Regions from separate parts of the Homo sapiens genome. Here region 1 is linked to region 2. The links are contacts of gene promoters, found by promoter capture Hi-C in human tissues and cell types (Jung and others, 2019). All regions are on one chromosome and are shown on one strand. Each heading gives the region's core, a stretch centred on a gene start or on the middle of the fragment in contact. The rest is flanking DNA. Distances are from core to core; before and after follow the strand shown.

Region 1 (3,662 bases), core at 538-3,037, 390 kb before region 2:
GTGCTGGGCTTTCAGAAGTAGCTACCAGATTTTGCATGAGATGACCTGGGTATCAATTAGGACTGTGTTCACCTGCATGTAACTAAAAACTAGAGTAACAGGGATTTTTTTTTTTTTTTTTTTTTTTTTTTTTTTTTTTTGTCTCATACAAAAAAGGAAGTTTAGAGTTGGCAGTCAAGGGCTGGTACCATCGCTTAGGGGTCAGCCAACATCAGGACTCCTCCTGTTCTCCTCCACCACACTTAGCATCTGGCTTTTCCCCTCATGGTTGAATATGGCTGCTGCACCTCCAGGCGTCCAAACTGTCTTCCAAAAAGTTAGAAGGAGAAAACGATGAAGTCAAAGATCAAAGAGAAAGGGCTAAAGAGCATGCCAGTTGAATCTGTTTCTTTTTAAATATCCACCCACCAGTCAGGCATGGTGGCTCATGCCTATAATCCCAGGACTTTGGGAGACCGAGGTGGGTGGATCATCTGATGTCAGGAGTTTGAGACCAACCTGACCAACGTGGTAAAACCCCATCTCTACTAAAAAGAGAAAAAATTAGCTGGGTGTGGTGGCGGGGGCCTGTAATCCCAGCTACTCGGGAGGCTGAGGCAGGAGAATCACTTGAATCCACGAGGCAGAGATTGCAGTAAGCTGAGATCGCGCCATTGCACTCCAGCCTGGGCAACAAGAGTGAAACTCCAGCTCAAAAAATAAAACAAAAAAAAAAGTAAATTTCCACCCACTGACTCCTGCTCTTATTCCACTGGGCAGAACTAGGTCAACATGACCACCACTACATACAAAGGATCCAAGGAAGTAGTTGAGCTGGACACCTTGCCACCCCCCAAAGGCAGGATGCTGTTAGTAAGGAAGAAGGGGAAACTAGATACTGGGTAGGTGCCCAGCATATGCTCTCAGCTGAGCTCAAGTGCAGTGAGGGTGGGCGGTGCATCACAGCCCTGGCCCAGGGCCACCCCCAGGACTGGGAGGAGAGCCCAGAGCTGAGAGGGGCAGAGCCTGGGCTGCAGGTCTCTGAGTCTGCATGGTATGGGCAGTCTAGTGGTGGGAAGATTTTCTCCCTCCCCCTCCCCACTCACTTATGTGCACCGGCATCCACGCAGCCTCCACTTTCACAGGCTGAGGTGCTGTCTCATTTCTCTCACCCTCTGCCACACCACCCCTTGGGTCTCCCTGACATTGCGCTGCTTTCTCAGGCCTTGGCTGGAGCACAGTGCAGAGGGGGTGGGGATGGGGGAGCACTCCTCATCGCTGCTTTTCAGAGGATCCCCCTCCACTCTTCAAAAGAAAGGATGGGAAGTGGGGTGTGGGGCTGTGTGCTAAGGAAGGCTCTCCTTCCAGCTTCTACTGCCTGCCCCCCACCTCAGGATCAGAAGTGGGGGGCTCCAAGGGCCCCTCATTCCAGAGCCCATGGGCTAAAGCAAGTAAAGATGAGTGAGGATTAAAGCAAAAGGCAAACATGAGGACACAGAGCCTGCCCTCCCTGTCGCAGCAACCTGGTGAGGATGAACTCAGAGGCTGGCCCTAGTGGTGGAAAGTTAAGGAAAGACTGCCAGAAGATGAATGCCAAAAACCTAGGGCTCCCCTTCTTCCTCCCCATATCCAAGCCCTCATCCTCCTTAGACATACATCCAGAGTCTGACTGCTCCTCCCGCCTCCACAGCCACCACCCTGGTCCATCCTTTGTCCCGACTCACGTAGATCATGACATCTCTCTCCTTCCTGCACGTCCAGCCGCCCCAACCACCCTCATCACACAGCCAGACCAGCCCTCTCGTGTTTCCCAAATCTCCATGATGGCTCACAGGTTCCCATGGATTCCTGTGGACTCCCAGGATCACTTCAGCCACAGGGAAGTGTGCTCCTGACTCAGGGCCTTTTCATTTCTGGTACCTTCTGCCTCGGAGGCCCTTCCCCCTGGAGCCCTGGGCTGACTCCCTTACCCTTCAGACTTTCACTAGCATCTACCAGAGCCTTCCTCTGACCTCCCTGTGTTAATGACAACAGCTCTCCACCCTGCTGCATACCCTAACATGCTGAGCAGCTTTCTTTTCTCCACACCACGTGTTGCCACCAGACAAAAGTGCTACAAGCTCCTGGAGGGAGGGACCAGGTCTATAGTTCACTGCCATATCCACAGTCCCTCATGTACTCCCTCAGTGCTTGCTGAGTGAGTGAGTGAATGAATGAATGAGCGAACCACAAGAATATTATTTGACCTCAAGAACACCGCAGGAACTGGCAGGGGGACCATGATCTTCCTGAACGCTCTGCATGAGATGACTTGGCAGATCCCACGGACTTGCCTTCTTAAAACCACCCTGGAGGCCGGGCACGGTGGCTCATGCCTGTAATCCTAGCACTTTGGGAGGCCGAGGTGGGCTGATCACGTGAAGTCAGGAGTTCAAAACCAGCCTGGCCAACATGGTGAAACCCCATCTCTACTAAAAATACAAAAAAAAATTTGCCTGCATGGTAGCGGGTGCCTGTAATCCCAGCTACTTGGGAGGCTGAGGAAGGAGAATTGCTTGAACCCTGGAGGCAGAGGTTGCAGTGAGCCAAGATTGCACCACTGCACTCCAGCCTGGGTGACAGAATGAGACTCCATCTCAAAAAAAAAAAAAAAAAAAAAAACCCACCCTGGAAACAGGGAGAGAATCAGAGCGAAAGCTTCCAGTTCAAACGCAGGTTGAGAATGAGGTTTGCAGAGCCAGCGGGCAGTGAGTGCTGACCGAGAAGACCCATGGCGGCCCACTGCAGTGGGGGCGGCGGCAGTGTGACCTTGTTGAAACTAGCCGCTCCAGTGACCCAAGGCTGGGGGAGATTTGGCTCTGCTACTTTCCAGCACTGTGAGCTTGGGAGCCTTACCTGCTCCGAGCTTCAGTTTCCTTACTTGTATAATGGGGATTAAATAACACACTTTTTTTTTTTTTGAGATGGAGTCTCACTCTGTTGCCCAGGCTGGAGTGCAGTGGCACTATCTTGGCACTATCTGCAACCTCCGACTCCCGGGTTCAAGCAATTCCCCCGCCTCAGCCTGCCCAGTAGCTAAGATTACAGACACACGCCACTACGCCCAGCTAATTTTTGCATTTTGGGTAGAGACGGGGTTTCACCATGTTGGCCAGGCTGGTCTCGAACTCCTGACCTCAAGTGATCCACCCACCTCGGCCTCCCAAAGTGCTGGAATTACAGGTGTGAGCAACCACGCCCAGCCCTAACACACTTTCTTTATTGCCCTTGAATCAACCGCATTCCAAGGCCAACGTCATTTGGAAAGGTTGACCTAGATTTCCTTTTCCATCTCCACTGGGACCTCCCCTTTCACCCACCGGAACCCAGGAGGCTCTGATGCCTTGAACACACAGAAGGGCTCCTAATCTTTTGTACATCAAAGTCGCCCCAGCTTCTTTGCTGCCCAAGCTCACTGGTGTGGTTTCCTAATGTCCCCGACAGTTTGGGAGATCTCTGCCAAGGCTGGCCACCTGGTACCAGCCCAGGTGCCCCACCTGTCTCCCACCCCCAGGTCTCTGGTCACCTCCTGGATACTGTGAGTACTGGAGAACTTGCTGCTTGGGGACACCAGCACTCTCTCCCCTGAGGGCTGGGGCATATGCTCTCCAGACCCACCTTTCTCCTTCCCTCTCAGGACCCCT
Region 2 (4,028 bases), core at 1,426-3,925:
CCTATGACTCTGCCAAGCAGAGATGCCCAGGAAGTGTGTGAGTCTGTGCTCAGGAGAAAGCGCAGGGCAGTAGAGACACATTTTATGAGCCACCACCTTGTGCACAGCAGCCAATGGCATTTCACTCTTACAGGGGTTGCAGGGAGTGAGAAGAAGGCCATGGACAGAAACACAGAAGAAAGACACATAAAAAAAATAGAATCCAAGATGGGGACTGAAGATTTGAAGGAGCAGAAGTAATCAGAGTTGAGTTTCGAAAAGATTGCTCTGGCTAAAGAATGCAGAATGGACTGGAGAGGGAGAAGCCACAGGCATGGGCCAGTCACTCAGGAGGGAGAACAGAATCCTCCCGGGGGGAGAAGTCTGATGTCTGTGTCCAAGCTACTTACCTTTTGCCCATCTCACAGGTTCACGTGAGGCTCACATGGGGTTGTGGCAATGACACACACAGCATCCAAGTGGAAGACAGGATTGTCCTCTCATACAGAATGACTTCTCCTTGAAGAGCAGAGGTGGCATGTTGACCACCTCTCTGTTTTAAAACATGTTGAATTAGTAGCCAACATGTAAAATTCTGGAGATGTTGCATGAAATTCTGATTTCTGGCTTCTCTTAGAAAAAACATGTCTTCCAACAGTCACCCTGCATTCTTGGCAGGAACTGAGTAGCAGTTGCTCTGTTTAGCAGTTGCTCTCTTTAGATGGGGCACTCACTTTTTTTTTTTTTCTTTTTAGACGGAGTCTCACTCTGTCGCCAGGCTGGAGTGCAATGGTGTGATCTTGGCTCACTGCAACCTCCACCTCCTGGGTTCAAGCGATTCTTCTGCCTCAGCCTTCTGAGTAGCTGGGACTACGAGTGCCCGCCACCACACCTGGCTAATTTTTGTTTTTAGTAGAGACGGGGTTTCATCATGTTGGCCAGGCTTTGGTCTCGAACTCCTGACCTCAGGTGATCCGCCCACCTCGGCCTCCCAAAGTGCTGGGATTACAGGTGTAAGCCACCGCGCCCGGCCAGGAATTCACTCTTCATCACTGTCCCCACCACCCCCTAGTGCCTCCTTGACACTGTTAGTTGCCATTCACCATCCTGTGGAGCTTGTATTTTCTTTCGCTGGTCCTGCTTTACTCATTTTCATTACCTGTTGGCATTTGTTTGTGACTCCTCTAGGGGTTTGGGGAATACAACTGTCTTCATGTGAGGGCTTGGTAGAAGTGCCTCTGTAGAGCCAGGTGCAGTGACTCACATCTTTAATCCCAGCATTTTGGGAGGCCGAGGCGGGCGGATCATGAGGTCAGGAGATCGAGACCATCCTAGCTAACATGGTGAAACCCTGTCTCTACTAAAAATACAAAAATTAGCCGGGTGTGGTGGCATACACCTGTAGTCCCAGCTACTTGGGAGACTGAGCAGGAGAATCGCTTGAACCCAGGAGGCGGAGGTTGCAGTGAGCCGAGATCGCGCCATTGCCCTACAGCCTGGGTGGCAGAGGGACACTCCATCTCAAAAAAAAAAAAAAAGAAGTACCTCTGTAGAATGACACCCCAAGTAATCTGTTTACTTTGCATGCACATCTTCTCGAGCCCTGCCTTTCAATCTGAGCCACAGGCTCTTCAAAAATGTTCAATAATTATATTTAATATATTTTAAACAACCACAGTTTAAGAATTCTAATTTAAACAAAAAAAGTCACAGATACAACAAAATGTGTTATCAAGCACATTTAATTCACTGGCAACCACAAGACATTGATTGTGCCCCTAGGTTACGTAGAAGGCCGTAGAAATGAACTCGCCATCGCTGTGCGATTGAAGAGTTTAGCTTGATAGTGCAAGGCCGGTGGCTGAAAAAAATGCTACCGTTTGCCCTATTCCTTGTCAAGACTTTCTCAGTACTGACTCTTGAAATAAATTGACTTCTTGAAGCTAGCATAAGACTGCAAATGGCCATTGCAACTGCCATTTCAAATTTCTGAAGATGTATTAGAAACGAAGAACCCACTGCCGTCGGGGGAAAGAGGACCTGGGCAGATAGAAGGAAAGAATGGAAGACATTTTTTCTCCCTTGGAAAGGCTTTCGCCATATAACTACTGCACATTTTAATATATTGACAACACTGGACATTTTTCCAAAAGTAAGTAAAAACCTTCATTGTTCAACTTTATAATAAGCCAATGATTACTTGTGGATTCATTATGATAATAAAGCACTTCTATGGGGATTTTCTTTTTTTTATGATAGGTTTTGCTTTAGAAAACAATTGAAAGCCACTTTTCTGGGAAAAAAAACAAAAAACAAAAAAAAACGCTGTTTGCGGCAGCCCCAATTCCCTAAGCATTATCTGGTGGGAGATGTGTTGCAGCGAGACCTCCCACCAGTAGGTGGCACTGCGCGCAATGCTCGCACCTCCCCTCAACACCCTTTCTCTCAGCAATGGCGGGTGATGGTGGGGGTCCTCTCTTTGCAGGGCTGGCCATTCTAATGCCTGACCTCAGGTGCAGACCAGTGTTCCGTTGCGCGGGACTCCTGACCTCGAGGAGGTTTAGAGAAAACAATGGTGTTCTCTGTGTACCCTTCCGCGAGGGCTGGGGAGTATACCGCCGCGCAGAAGACGCAGGCCAGGGGAGAATTCGCGCCGGGCGGCAGGCGGGGTGGCGGGCAGCCCCTGGGCGGGCGGGGTCCTGGCGAGAAGCGAGCCGGCGGCCTGAGGAGGCGACTGACTGAGCAGCGCACCCGGGGAGCAAGGAGGCGCGGTGAACTGAGCGGCCCCTGAGCTGACAGATACACTGCGCAGCTGGAACGGCGAGCGAGCCGACGGGCGAGTGAGGGGCGCAGCCATGATCACCTCGGCCGGTGAGTGCGGCCCGTAGCCAGCGCCTGGAGGGAGGAGCCGCCGCCGCGCCGGCTTTTAGCTGAGTCAGGGCCGGTGACTGGGCGCCTCCCGGCGGAACGCCGGCCTGGGCAGCTTCTTGCTGCCCAGGGCCCACCCCCGGGCCGGGGGGCTGGGAGTCTGATCAGGTCACTGCGTGCTTCTCTGGCTTGAGGGAATCGAGCCGGGTCGACCGCCTCGGCATCCCTCCCCAATCACACCCCAGCGCCAGGACCCGAGGGGCTTCCTGGGCCTTCCCCTGACCCCAGAAGGGCTTACCTTTTTTCTGTGCCTCCCATTCTTGGCCGTGTGAGGTCGTCCAGCCCCAGTTCTTGCCCGCAGGGGGCCGGGGTGGGATGGGCCCCTGTGCCATTGAACAGTAAGGCAAACCCCCCTGATCGGGCAGCCTAACTGCTACAGAAGTGTTTCTGGACGTGGCCGAGCTCCATTCGCCTTAGAATGAAACCCGAAATTAGGTTTGAGGTGGGTCATTTCTGGGTCCGATCCAAGGGTGTTCATTCAAAACACCCAGAGAACTTTTGGGTTCGGCGAAGACCCTAAAGACGCCCTGGAGATACCTTTATACTGAGAGCCTACTTATACCCTTTCGAGGTTATGTGCTCAGTCTGTTGACTGTACATTCAAGAAAGAATGGATGGATCTGCGGAGCAGGTTTCATACGCGCAAACCATTGCATAGGTAGATTCACGTAGTGACATTTGCAATGGAGTAAGTTACAGAGATCAAGTTTCAATTGGAGACTTAAGCTCCCCGTTACAGATTGACTTGCATATAGCTGTCCAGAGCCTTGGTGCTTTTTTCCGTTGCCTATTTACATACCCTTTTCTCATTTTCTTACTCTGTGTTTGACCCACAAAGAAAGCATTTTATTGTAAACAAACTGGTGAGCAGAAGACAGTAATCTGAATGGTAAGGCGATCAAAACTTTATTTTTATGAGGATTGGTTAAGGAGATCGTTGGAGATACTGGGAGACGTAGTTACTTTCAAACATTTGAAGAGCTGTCACTTGTACCTGAAATAAGACTTTTTGTCCCCAAGAGATACAAGTGATCGCGAGATGAATTTTAGTTCAGTATCAGGAAGTTTTTCCAGTCAGAGCTTTGTAAAGATCAAATAAACACTCAGTTTCTTGCCACCTA

The links. Contacts are between HindIII fragments. The study calls those that stand out against the background at their distance.
Region 1: a contact is called between a fragment that was not itself captured here and the fragment with the promoter of PSMD1 in region 2, in 1 of the 25 tissues and cell types used here (bladder).

The regions. Positions count from the first base shown.
Region 1 is chr2:230,663,304-230,666,965 of GRCh38, forward strand. No RefSeq gene overlaps it. Among named protein-coding and RNA genes, the nearest start is that of LINC01907, 35 kb to the right of the region's middle. RefSeq lists enhancers at 238-427, 3,115-3,662. The HindIII fragment of the contact is 5,990 bases long and covers 1-3,662 here.
Region 2 is chr2:231,054,192-231,058,219 of GRCh38, forward strand. It overlaps PSMD1 (proteasome 26S subunit, non-ATPase 1), which reads left to right and starts at 2,676. Exons shown (of 25, transcript NM_002807.4): 1 at 2,676-2,850. The coding sequence starts at 2,835. It overlaps LOC112268432 (a long non-coding RNA gene), which reads right to left and starts at 3,555. Exons shown (of 2, transcript XR_002959456.2): 1 at 3,146-3,555. RefSeq lists a silencer at 2,577-2,766. The HindIII fragment of the contact is 12,128 bases long and covers 1-4,028 here.